3 separate regions of the Homo sapiens genome follow, and regions 2 and 3 are each linked to region 1. The links are contacts of gene promoters, found by promoter capture Hi-C in human tissues and cell types (Jung and others, 2019). All regions are on one chromosome and are shown on one strand. Each heading gives the region's core, a stretch centred on a gene start or on the middle of the fragment in contact. The rest is flanking DNA. Distances are from core to core; before and after follow the strand shown. Region 1 holds the start of GALNTL6 (polypeptide N-acetylgalactosaminyltransferase like 6). Region 2 overlaps GALNTL6 (polypeptide N-acetylgalactosaminyltransferase like 6). Region 3 has its middle 54 kb from the start of GALNTL6.

What was found. Contacts are between HindIII fragments. The study calls those that stand out against the background at their distance.
Region 2: a fragment that was not itself captured here is called in contact with the fragment with the promoter of GALNTL6 in region 1 in 3 of the 25 tissues and cell types used here (dorsolateral prefrontal cortex, hippocampus and lymphoblastoid cells).
Region 3: a contact is called between a fragment that was not itself captured here and the fragment with the promoter of GALNTL6 in region 1, in 2 of the 25 tissues and cell types used here (aorta and heart left ventricle).

What each region holds. Positions count from the first base shown.
Region 1 is chr4:171,811,599-171,815,883 of GRCh38, forward strand. GALNTL6 (polypeptide N-acetylgalactosaminyltransferase like 6) reads left to right here and starts at 1,806. Exons shown (of 13, transcript NM_001034845.3): 1 at 1,806-2,392; 2 at 2,814-3,120. The coding sequence starts at 2,983. It overlaps LOC441052 (a long non-coding RNA gene), which reads right to left and starts at 2,009. Exons shown (of 1, transcript NR_134656.1): 1 at 540-2,009. RefSeq lists a silencer at 1,727-1,776 and an enhancer at 2,017-2,166. The HindIII fragment of the contact is 16,056 bases long and covers 1-4,285 here.
Region 2 is chr4:171,859,771-171,864,392 of GRCh38, forward strand. All of the region lies in intron 2 of GALNTL6 (polypeptide N-acetylgalactosaminyltransferase like 6), which reads left to right. Among named protein-coding and RNA genes, the nearest start is that of GALNTL6, 49 kb to the left of the region's middle. The HindIII fragment of the contact is 5,882 bases long and covers 1-4,622 here.
Region 3 is chr4:171,757,314-171,761,588 of GRCh38, forward strand. No RefSeq gene overlaps it. Among named protein-coding and RNA genes, the nearest start is that of GALNTL6, 54 kb to the right of the region's middle. The HindIII fragment of the contact is 3,330 bases long and covers 1-3,080 here.

The DNA.
Region 1 (4,285 bases), core at 556-3,055:
GAAGCATGTTTCAACTCAACACCCTGGATTCAACAAATAGAATGCTAGTATGTCTATTCCTGATCCAAGACTATTTTTTAAGGTATTAAAAAACAGGTATTGTTTAAAATGTGAGAGATTTTACTTTTTTAATTCCAAGTGCACTTTTGAGTTATTTTACTTTGAAAATTAATAACTGTATCAGTACTTAAAAATATATCCAATATAATTAAATGATTCTCCAAATTTATTTCCTTGAGCACCTGACAATATTCCCAGGAAACCTCTCCCTGCTATGTTGCTTCCCAGAATTCACATTTCTGTGTTTCAAAACTGCACTTCCTTAGAGAGAAAAAGGTTAGAAAATAACGCAGACTACAAAAGGCATAGTGTATGTGTGGGGGTGGGGGTGAGGAATTAAGTCCCTTGCACTCTAGATTAAGTTGCATTTATATAAAATCTAAAGGTAATTGGTCTTTATATAAAGGACACATTCAACAACATTTATTAAATATATTTTTAGACTATTTTAAAATTCAAGTGATTCACAAAAACAAATATTACAGCATAGCGCTTTATTCATGCCATCATACAGTCGATCTGTATTCTTCAAGTACATTTTGAATTTATAATGAGAACAGTTTAAGGCATAACTCTTCCCACTCAAATCTAGGTCTTTCTCAAGTGAGACACTAGAGAGAGTAGAAAGGGAGGAAGAGATAGGGCGAGAAGAAAAGGAGGGAGGGACAGAGATGAGGACGAGAAAGAAGAAAAAAGGGAAAGAGAAAATACCGTCTGAAGTCCACAGGCTTATCTATCCCAAGCATGTCTACCCCACGCATGTGGGCATCATATCCAGGTTGTAACAAAGAGGTGACCATGGCGTTTATTTTTGGCTCCAGACAGGCGGATTCAGCCTGCATTGCATGCATGCATGTCTGTCACCTCATCTAAGTCCCCATTCCTTCCGGAGTTGTGAGCTCCAGATCCAAGAGTGCCCAGTGCACGGTGCTGGGCACGCTGTCCCTTGGCGAGGCTGCCACAGGTTCCTGAGTGTGCGGTCAGGGGCGTTGGTGCATTGATACGTTAGGCGGAGGGAGGAGTACCATCTGCCAGAGTCTTATCTCGAGTCCCACGTTTTCTGGCCATCGCGGAGGAGTGTGCGAGGACAGGTAGCCCTCGCAGTGACAAGGCGCGCGGAGTGCGGTCGTGCAAGGCGGGGGAGGAGCGGGGTGGCCCTGCCGAATCTTAACCGGGGCCCCGGGTGTTTGCAGACCCAAATAAAGCCGCCTTGGGTCTCCACGGTGTCCTCCAGAAGCTGCTGCCTGAGAACTCTGAGCCTCAGCTCTGTCTTGCTTCGGGATCCTCTTCCTCCTCCTTCCCCACCCCCTACCTGGCCTGAACGGCGGAACGCGCGGCTCGGGGGATCCCCTCTCCCTGGGACCGGCCCTGTCCCGGGTCGCCTCCACCTCCCGCAGCCGCCGCGCCCCGGCTCGCCGCGCTCCCGCCGGCACCATGGAGGAATTCCTGGGACAACCGCCTGCAGCCGGCGACTTTTCCCCAGGAATCTCTGGCCTGGCGCCCTTTGGGTGAGATGACGGGGTGCTGGCATCCCTGTCGGTCCCAGATTACCCGGAAAAGCCCTGGCAGGTAAAGAGAGGACCCGCGCAGGCTGGGAGCTCCCACTCCTCCTCCAGCGTCACGCTCGCCCTCCGCCGCTGCCTCGCGTCCGGGTCTGTTTATATAGCGTCTGGAGGCCGGGAGGCATTGCCCACCCCCGCCAGGCGGCCCGCCCTCCCCTCCTGGGCTCCGGGCTGCCGCACGTGGCAGACACCAGCGACGTCTCCGCGGAAGGCAGGCGCCGGGGAGTGGGGCGCGGGCGACCGTGTGCAGCCGCGGCGCATCTCCGCCTTCCGCTCCTCCTCGCAGCGCCCTCGTCCGCTTCCAAGCCCAGCACAGACTTCGGTTTCTCCGCCTCCATCCCCTTTACGAGAAGAGGAGATCAAAAAATATTGCCCTTTAGGTGCTCGTGATGGTCCTGTGGGTTCGTTCAGTTGCCAGAAAAGAATGGTAACATGAACAGCGGAGCGTGAGAGCGTCACCGGGGGAAGGGACGAGATTGATGGGCAGAGCGCTCACTTCTCAGAGGATCGCATTCCGAGGACCGCGCGAGGAAGGGACGTCGCGGCGCCACCACTTCCTGGCTGGACTCCGCTGACATCTGTAGCCTCCTTTCCACCAGGTTCCCGGGGCTCCCAGCCGCTGCCTGCAGAGGAGCGTGTAGACAGCGCGCGAGGGTCCGGCACTTCGTGGACCTCCATCCGAACCGGAGTTCTGCCCGGATCCCGAGTCCCTGGATCCCGGTGGAGCCCGCCGGCAAGCTGGCTCCGGAGGGAGTTGAACTTGAGTTCAGGTGGGTTATCCCAAGGGGAGCACAGGAAAAGATGTTCAGGGAAGACGAAGAAGGTGACGCTGTTCCAATGTCAAAAGCGGACACTTTTCTTCCTGACACTTGAAGGGGTTGAGCCAGTTCCTCTCAGTTCTGTCTCCTAACCCGCTCCACCCCGACCCAGCCCTCCCACACTAAGGAGGTGGGGGGCGAACAACAACAACAGCAACAAAAACTCCCAGTTACCTAAGTATCTAGCAGGCTGTTGACTTTTTTATAACTTACCTTTAGTCAATGAAACGACCATATTTACTCTATTGCTTTATATTAATGGAGGTCAATGGGCTTAATGATTTCTTTAGTCAAGTCATTTATTTCTAAGCCAATAGATAATGCCTTCGTCATAGTTTTCTGGGGGGAAAGTAACTGTGCGTTTGTTCTGCAGATGGCCAACTCCCTCTGAATCCTGCAGATTGGTGCTGAGCACGCAACAAAAGTTTGTAGCTTCTCAGTTTCTGGTGCTTCGCAGGGGAGAGGAAAGGAATTTGACATTAAACACAAGAAGCAGTCAGGGAGCCATCTCCTTTAACTTTTCTTCTCTGTTACCATTTGCAATGAAGAGGAAACAGAAGAGATTTCTGCAGATGACTTTGTTGTTCACGGTGGCTTTAATTTTCCTGCCTAACGTTGGTCTCTGGTCTCTGTACAAGGATAAGCACCTGGTGAAGTCAGCGGAGCCCGGGGAGCAGCAGGTAAGTGCCACCCAGAGAAAGATCACACAAGGATTGGTAAGGCAGTGATCCTCGCGCGGGGACTCGAGAAAGCCGGTGTGGGATCGCCTTGGGTTTTCCCCCAAGTCTTGACAGAGCTGATTATTACAAGACTCTAGAGACTTTGGGGTTTAAGCAAGTAGATGTTTTAAGATTGCAGCCAGTAACATCGTGACATGTACAACTAGTAAAGAAGGATAAGACAGGTCAAGAAGAAGAGAAGATAATCTTTCACCATTGGTCTTAGGTTGATTTTGACTTGAGGTGGATGAAAGGTAACTGTTCAGCTATGGAGGTGGGAGTGGGTTTGGTGCAAGTTTAATGACAAGGATAGGTTTTTGCTTTCCATTTGGCATGCATGTCTATGTTCAGGTGAATTGGGCCAACTAAATCATTAAGATTGTGAAGTGGTTCTTTAAAAATCAAGCTATGGTTTTCAGTATTTTGGTTGTAAATTTTGCTTAGCAACAGCTTTTTACCCTGTCGAAACTTAAAGTCTCTCTTTCGTCTCCCCTGTTGCTAAGGTGCTGCCATGGGGCACACAGGCAGAGTTATTAAGGACGTTCATTCCGTTTCACAGTCGCTTGATAACAGTATGTTGCTAACAGCTTGCTGTCATATTGGAAACACCCATACTAAAGATATGTAGTATAATATGTTTTCTTTCTACTTAATATGTAACTCATTAGTATGTATATACCTCATGACTTAACATGGACCAAAATAACTGTGTTCCCTGGTGAACAATAATGCAAAATAGACTTCCCAAAATGTTGATGAAAATCAATGTTGTCGAATTCCTTGTTTGTTAATAAATAAAATAGCTTCCGTAATTAAACGTTTAACAACAGAATGCAGTCTTCTTCATGATATTGATAAACCACTTTTTCAGTTAGTCCTGTGCATCACCTTGGAATATTAATATTCTTAATTTCAAGGGTCATCACCCATGAACACTCTGTACCTTCCACACATAGAAAATGTTGAAGTAGTCCATTCCTGGAAAACAGCAATATATAGTAATGGCCATTAAATATTTGCTCTTATACTTAATGAAGTTTAATTTTCTTTTTGCACAGTGGTTAGTTGTGCAATATAAAGAGGTAATCTGCTTTTTCATTATGACAAGAAATCATTACCAGTCTCT
Region 2 (4,622 bases), core at 1,243-3,742, 49 kb after region 1:
AGCATGTAGTGACTGCATGACTGACTTCAGCTCCTCAGACTGCAGCCCTGCCCTGCCTCCCACTCAATCTCTACTCCCAGGAAAAATAGACATTCAACATAGGTCACATGGTTAAGGTAAACTTATCTGGTCAGATTGATACAATATGGCCTGAGGCCTCGGACATATAGAAACACTCTTTTCAGGAATTATATTCCCAGGGCTCTGAGGTTATCTCCAAGGAGCTGGCCAAAATTCAGTCCTGAAGACAGACCTTTCTTTGGAATGTTCAGGATTTGAGTAATTCAGACCTACTGAGTTAACCTTTTACTGTCCACATAAGAACACCATTATTTGATTAAATAATCCATAATAATGTTTGTCACCACATATTTAGCTTATAGAATGTGTCAAGCCCTGTTCAAACATTACCTTAGGTTTTTTTCTCAACAAATACAATATTAAATCCATTTGCTGATGAGGAACATAAAATCAGAAAACTAAATTTCCCACACCACATGGCTAGTAAATATTAAAGCTGGTATTTGAACAAAGTTCTATTTGATTTTATAGTCTTGCTCTACTCCCTCTACCATATACATTGCAGAAATTTGGACCTTCATAGTCTATAGGAGAAATATCCAGTAAAATAATAGGACCTAGAGTCAATGAATGCAATATATATTGTCATGGCTTTGCTTAAGCACCCTGACAACCTGGCTTTAATCCTCACTCCTCTAGATTGCTCATTGTGGAACAATCAGTATACCAACTAGAAAATAACCACCAGAAAAAAGACTCTACTTTATAATCCTTTAGCCCTTTCACTGAATCTGCTTCTTCACATGTTTAACATTTTTAATGGAAGCTGGACATTGGAAATGACAGATTTTGAGGAGCATTGATTATATTGTCTTCCTTAACAGGGTGTTGATTTTATTTGACCAATCAGTAAATTACTGGTAGATACTGTTCTTCCTCTGAGGATGCATTTCTTAATATGGATCTGTTTCGGTTCTGTTCCTTGTCCTGGAATGCAGCCCTTAATACAGAATATAGTCATTTTTGCCTTAAAGTGTGGCTTTTCTGACATTACAAGTGAGTGTCTTAGGTGCCCAGTAAGATTTCTCCCATCTGCTGGGTGATAACGCCAATTCCAAAGTCTTCCAGAATAGAACAACCTCTGATACCTCCTCCATTCAGCATTCAGCTTGTAGCCATAATTCTCCATTAGGCCTCTCACAGTATCACTCTGTACCTGTTCAGTTCATTTCTCAGCCAAAGACCCCATGAAGATTTATGACCAACATATCTCCTGTCCAATATCGTATTGTACAAATTCCACCCATTTCTGCAAATTAAAACTGCAGTCTAAGCCTCCTCAGCTCTGCAATATTGAGCATAGCTCCATGTCTCATTCACTGAAAGGCGCCCCAGATAGGAAGCCAGTATGAAGAGAGAGTTTACCTCCTGAGTGTTCCTTTCCTCAAGGATCACAGTGTGTGCTACTTCTGGTTCAATGCTTTAAAATTATACCCATATAATTAATCTAGTTTAATAGTCATTTACTACAGGAAGGCCAGTCCAGTTAACAGTTATTCTGTCAGTGTTGAAGTCACTACCAGTATGATAATCAAATAAAATAGTTTAATTGACATTTGTAACCCTTTACAATTTAACACCAGCTTGCTTTTCCTGACCTGTCTCCTCTATTCACATCAGTTGAGTATGTTTTTCACTTCTCAAACACTTTTGAAACTCAGTGCATTTAAGCATATCCTTCTTTTTTCTTGGGATGTGTTTTCCTCTCTTCCATCAATCTTCCTCAGTTTTTAAGACCCAGGAAAACTTACCGCTTCCCCTCTGAAGTTGTTCCCAGCCACTCCCACTAAGTCTAAAATCCTGTGCCACTTACCTATATTATTATTTATATCATCCACAGAACTTTACAACTTTCATAGGTATTTCTGTGTAAATCTATCTTCCAAAATAATTTTGAGATATTTATAAAAACAAATATCATTTGTTTGTGTAGAGCAGGTATTCAGAATTTAAAAAACATATCTGATGGTATTTTTTGACAGTATGTTTTACAAAATCGCTTATATTATTAATGTCTGATGCTATTACTTAACCACTACCACTATATGTAGTGACCACTGGCCACTAATAGTGTTTACTATGATCAATTTTATTAAAGGCTTTGCTTTAATTATTTAATTATTTCACTTATTCTTTCCAATGGTCTTATATGGAAGGTGGTATTTCTTCCATACTAAAGTTGAGAAATACTAGGTAGACACGAGGTAAAGAAACTTGTGGACAATAATTTAGCAAGCTTGGGATAACCAGTATTTCAACCTAGATTTTTCCATTGCAATTCACAAGTTCTATACTATGGCAATTTATGTAACAGGCAGAGGTCTTCAGAAATAAATTAGAATTTTATTTGAGAGATAATTTTTGAAATGTCACATTCCATTATTAGCATATTCATATGTAGAATTATTGAAGAAGATAATATGAATGAAAGTAATTTGTCTTTGGTAGTAGTTTTTCATTCTTTAGGGAAAAGCATTACCAGGCCATTGATTTGAGATGAGACTGCAGAAACTTAGAAAAATAAAACCTCAGTGTGAACTGAGCATCTGTTTAATCATGTATTAATGAAATTTATTTAAAGTCTGAAATATTCTAAATACATGTTAATTTATTTAAATTCTGAATATATAAAACTGTTTTTGAGAATTTGGAAAATATATTGTAATTATCATATTTTAGAAAGTAAGCAAGCAAATACTAGCATCTTACTTAAGGAGAAATGAGATGAATAGACTAGACCAAGGCTTTTTTTAAACGTAAATGACTTATGGTATTGAAATTATGCCTTATTAGAAAGTCGACTGCATTTTATAAAGAATGTCATATTTTATGTAATAATGTAATTTTAAATATCTTGACTTTAGTAAGACTGAATATTTTCCTTTGTAAATATTTGCTTAAATTATATTTTGTTAGTGGTATAGAGTCAACTGATCAAATATAATAACCTAAAAAGTCTTAAGTGTATGAATGTCATTTATTTTATTAGCCCCCAAATTATCTGAGTTTTTCTCAGGACCTATATAATTAGATTTTGAATTAGAATGTATTGATTATAAGTGAATACTTCAAAGTGATTGATATTTTCAAAATGCATATTGTGAAGACCAAAATATATTTGACAATAGAGATATGGAGTAATGTGTCATCTGAAGAAACAGAAATTTTACCTTACAAACTCTTATTTCAAAGAATTTTGTATGTAGGAAAGTTAGGTATCTAATTCACTGAAAACTAACTAGCATTGGCTTACAGGATTGAATTGAAGGCAGACATGAAGTTGCGTGAAATACCAGTCATTCAGGAAGTGAATGAAATACCATCCTTGAAAGGAGTACAAGGCCCTAGAATTAAAAATGGTGATAAATATGGAGGATTCTCTTTTATTTCACTTGACTGAAGAAACTAATCAATAAACATATTTTTTATGATCAATGTCAATTGCCTTTTTGGGATCTATTGTAGACCTCTGTGTTTAACTAATATAACTATATGGTTTTCTATTATTTCATATGGAGAGACTAGAAGAGTGGTGTTTTTGTAAATAAAAGAAATAGAATTTCTGAAAGAAGCTAACTTCAATTCATGTATTTTTGGTAATTGCTACCCTGTTTTCTTTAAAATAGCTAAGACATTCTGGCTCTAGTTTTTTGCCTTCAGACTTTTTGATCTGTTCTCATTACATTCTTGGTGATCTATTTCATCTTTCTGTAATTCAGTAGCTAAGTAATATGTTACAATAGTTGTTCTAAAGTTTCTGTAAAGGCTTTACTAGATTATTAAAGTTAACACTGAGCTGGATATTCATCATTAGTCAAGAAAAAAATTATAAGTCCTCCAGAGTGAAAACTCCTAGTAGGACAAAGTGCATGCATTAAATAATGATAATACCTGAGGAGAAAAGGAACACTTTTTTTTTTTTTGAGACATAGTTTTACTCTTGTCGCCCAAGCTGCAGTGAAATGGCACAATGGCAGCTCACTGCAACCTCCGCCTCCCAGGTTCAAGCGATTCTCCTGCCTCAGCCCCCAAAGTAGTTGGGGTTACAGGTGCCCGCCACCATGCCCAGCTAATTTTTTTTTTGTATTTTTGTAGAGATGGGGTTTCACCATGTTGGCCAGGCTGGTCTCGACCTCCTGCCCTCAGGTGATCCACCTGCCTCGGCCTCCCAAAGTGCTGGGATTACAGGCGTGAGCCATGGCACCCAGAAGGAATACTTTTAATACCACTTCTAAAGTATGTCACTGAAATATCTTTCATAGTTTGTTTTGTTGATTATTTGTGAAAATATAAAATTTTGTAAGTACTTTAACATTCTCACTCTTGTAATCCTACTTAATATCTTATCTTTAAAGGAAATAATTATCTATAGAATAACTTCTATGTTTATAACACAGATTTAGGTTCTGAATATGATTAAATTGGGAGAAACAGTGGCTCGAATATAAAAGGTCACGATTATCTTTAAGGAAAAGAAATTAAGAAAATGAAAGACAACTCAGTCTATGATAAATATGCTCACATATGAGGTATAGTGATTA
Region 3 (4,275 bases), core at 166-2,665, 55 kb before region 1:
GAGCCATAAACATATTCATGTTGGCTGAAAGCAGATAATATTATTAACTGAGTACTCATAATTAAAATATGAAAAATGTATTATCATCACAGAAAAGTGATCATAAAACCATAGAAAAATCATAGATTGTATTGGCATTTATTTTCAGCAGCTTGATGTGTAGTTTCTGCTATTCAATTTCCTACATCATAAGAGTAATAATAAATGAGTGTTTCTAGCTTCCTTTCCCACACTCCACTAGCTAAAGATGATTCTGGTTTGTTCTTTTTTTCTCTCCCCCATTTTTCTGTGGAGACTGAACAATGTCAGTCAACCTCTGAACATAACAGAAGGATGGCGATTATGAGAAAGTGCTAGAGAGGAGAGAGGGTTGGAAGGATCTAGCAAAGACTGAAGAAATGCAAACAAAATAAATGTTTATATGAACACTTTTATTTGCTCCAAAACAAAGTTAAAATTTTAGCCGGGCCTGGTGGCTCACGCCTGTAATCCCAGTACTTTGGGAGGCTGAGGCAGGCAGATCACCTGAGGTGGGGAGTTTGAGACCAGCCTGACTAACATGTGAAACCCCGTCTCTACTAAAAATACAAAAATTAGCTGGGGGCAGTGGCAGGGGCCTGTAATCTCAGCTGCTTGGGAGGCTGAGGCAGGAGAATTGCTTGAGCCCAGAAGGCAGAAGTTGCAGTGAGCTGAGATTGTGCCGTTGCACTCCAGCCTGGGCGACAGAGTGAGACTCCGTCTCAAAAAAAATTTTAAGTTAATTTCAGGTATTTTTTTAGTATCTATATTTCTTTACAGCCTTTTTGGAGCTATTTCAGGCTCTGAAGCAACCCAAAGGATTTTGAATATAAATGTAGAACAAAGCAACACTTTGAATCGCTATCATATCCTTTAATTCGGTGAAAAGCTGTGTTATCTGTGAAACGTGGACAAGCGATGTATATTGAACTCCAAATATAGCATCTTAAACAGTTCTGGCAGGATGACTGATTCACACAAGATATAAAAGCTTCAGTAGTTAAGAAAAATAATTTGGGGGTAGGTGTTCATTGTATCATGTTGTAGATTTGTTTTGGCAAAAGCAAATGAATTTCATCAAATCTGTTATGCCATATCTTTGTACTTTTCCCCAGGAATATGTATACCCTGCAAACAAAAACGATGTTCTTACTTTTGTTGACAGATTCTAATAACCAATATCCATCTGAAATATCTATCAGGCCTCAGACAATATTTTGAGAGTTTTTTAGTAATGATTTGCAGGACATTCTGAAGATCACATCCTCCCTTTTCAAATATATAATTTCACTGATTAACGATGCAAACATCACATTTTAGATCTTAAATGACATTGGTATCCAGTAACTTTTGAACAACTGACTTTGTGCAATCATATCCATTAGCTTGTCCAAACAATACAAAAATCTAATTTATCAGTTTAAAATAAATGTTGAGTGATAAGTAGATTTTTAAACATAACGAAAATTAAAATTTAATTCCTTAAAAAGTTTATGTGTGGTGGATGCAAGATGACTGAATAGGAACAGCATTGGTCTGCAGCTCCCAGCAAGACTGACACAAAAGATGGGTGATTTCTTTATTTCCAACCGAGGTACCTGTTTCATCTCATTGGGACTGGTTGGAGAGTGAGTGCAGCCCACGGAGGGTGAGTTGAAGCAGGGTGGGGTGTCGCCTCACCTGGGAAGCGCAAGGGGTCGGGGAATTTTCCCCCTACCCAAGGGAAGCCGTCAAGGTCTGAGCCTGAGGAATTCCCGCACAGATAAAGCGCTTGTCCCTCGGTCTTCGCAACCCACAAACCAGGAGATCCCCTCTTGTGCCTACCCCACCAGGGCCCAGGGTTTCAAGTACAAAACTGGGTGGCAAATTGGGCAGACACTGAACTAGCTGCAGGAGCTCTTTTTTTTCCATACCCCAGTGGTGCCTGGAATGCCAGTGAGACAGAACTGTTCACTCCCCTGGAAAGGGGTGCTGAAGCAAGGGAGCGAAGTGGTCTGGCTTGGTGGGTCCCACCCCCATGGAGCCCAGGAAACTAGGAGCCACTGGCTTGAAATTCTCACTGCCAACACAGCAGCAATCTGAGATCCACTTGGGACAGTCCAGCTTGGTACGGGGAGGGGCGTCCGCCACTGCTGAGGCTCAAGTAGGGCGGTTTGAGGTCACAGTGTAAACAAGGGTGCTGGGAACTTCTAACTGGGCAGAGATCACAGCAGCTCAGCAAGGCAGCTGTGGCCAGATTGCCAGATTTCTCCTCTCTGGAAAGGGTACCTCTTTAAAAATGCAGCAGTCCCAGTCAGGGCCTTATAGCAGACTTAAAAGTCCCTGCCTGGAAGCTCTGAAGAGAGCAGCAGACCTCCCAGCACAGTGTTCGAGCTCTGCTAAGGGTCAGACTGCCTCCTCTAGTGGGTCCCTGACCCCTGTGTATGCTGACTTGGAGACACCTCCCAGTAGGGGCCGACAGACACCTCATACAGGAGAGCTCTGACTGGCATCTGGCAGGTGCCCTTCTGGGTTGAAGCTTCCAAAGGAAAGAACAGGAAGCAATCTTTGCTGCTCTGCAGCCTCTGCTGGTGATACCCAGGCAAACAGCGTCGGGAGTGGACCTCCAGCAAACTCCAGCAGACTAGCAGCAGAGGGGCCTGACTATTAGAAGGAAAAGAAATAGACAGAAAGGATTAGCACATCCACTCAAAGATCCCATCCGTAGGTCACCAACATCAAAGACCAAAGGTAGAGAAATCCACAAAAATTAGAAAATAACAGTGCAAAAAGGCTGAAAATTCTAAAACCAGAACACCTCTCCTCCTCCAAAGGATCACAACTCCTCACCAGCACAGGAACAAAACTGAATGGAGAATGAGTTTGATGAACTGGCAAAAGTAGGCTTCAGAAAGTGGGTAATAACAAACTCCTCTGAGCTAAAGGAGCACGTTCTAACCCAATGCAAGGAGGTAAGAACCTTGGAAAAAGGATAGCCGAATTGCTAACCAGAATAACCAATGTAGAGAAGAACATAAACGACCTGATGGAGCTGAAAAAACACAGCACAACAACTTCGTGAAGTATTCGCAAGTATCAATAGCCAAATCGATTAAGCAGAAGAAAGGATATCAGTGACTGAAGATCAACTTAATGAAATAAAGAGAGAAGACAAGATTAGAGAAAAAAGAATAAAAAGGAATGAACAAAGCCTCCAAGAAATATGGGACTATGTGAAAACTCATTCTACGTTTGACTGGTGTACCTGAAAGTGACAGGGAGAATGGAACCAAGTTGTAAGTCACGCTTCAGGATATTATCCAGGAGAACTTCCTCAACCTAGCAAGAGAGGCCAACATTCAAATTTAGGAAATACGAGAACACCACAAAGATACTCCTCAAGAAGAGCAACCCGAAGACATATAATCGTCAGATTCACCGAGGTTGAAATGAAGGAAAAAAGTTAGACCAGAGAGAAAGGTCAGATTACCCACAAAGGGAAGCCCATCAGACTGACAGCGGATCTATCTGCAGAAACCCTACAAGCCAGAAGAGAGTGGGGGCCAATATTCTATGTTCTCAAAGAAAAGAATTTTCAACCTAGAATTTCATATCCAGCCAAATAAAGCTTCATAAGGAAGGAGAAATAAAATCCTTTACAGACAAGTAAATGCTGAGGGATTTGTCACCACCAGCCATACCTTACAACAGCTCCTGAAGGAATCACTAAACATGTACCAGCCACTGCAAAAACATACCAAATTGTAAAGAACATTGACACTATGAAAAAACTGCATTAACTAATGGGCAAAACAACCAGCTAGCACCATAATGACAAGATCAAATTCACACATAACAATATTAACCTCAAATGTAAATGGGCTAAATGCCACAATTAAAAGACACAGACTGGCAAATTGGATAAAGAGTCAAGACCCATCAGTGTGCTGTATTCAGGAGACCCATCTCACGTACAAAGAGGCACATAGGCTCAAAATAAAGGAATGGAGGAGCAAATGGAAAGCAAAAAAAAAAAAAAAAAAAGCAGGAGTTGCAATCCTAATCTCTGATAAAACAGACTTTAAACCAACATAGATCAAAAGACACAAATAAGGGCATTACATAATGATAGGTCTTAGAGACCTACAAATAGACTTAGATGCCCACACAATAATAGCGGGAGACTTTAACACCCCACTGTCAATACTGGACAGATCAATGAGACAGAAAATTAACAAGGATATTCAGGACGAACTCAGCTCTGGATGAAGTGGACCT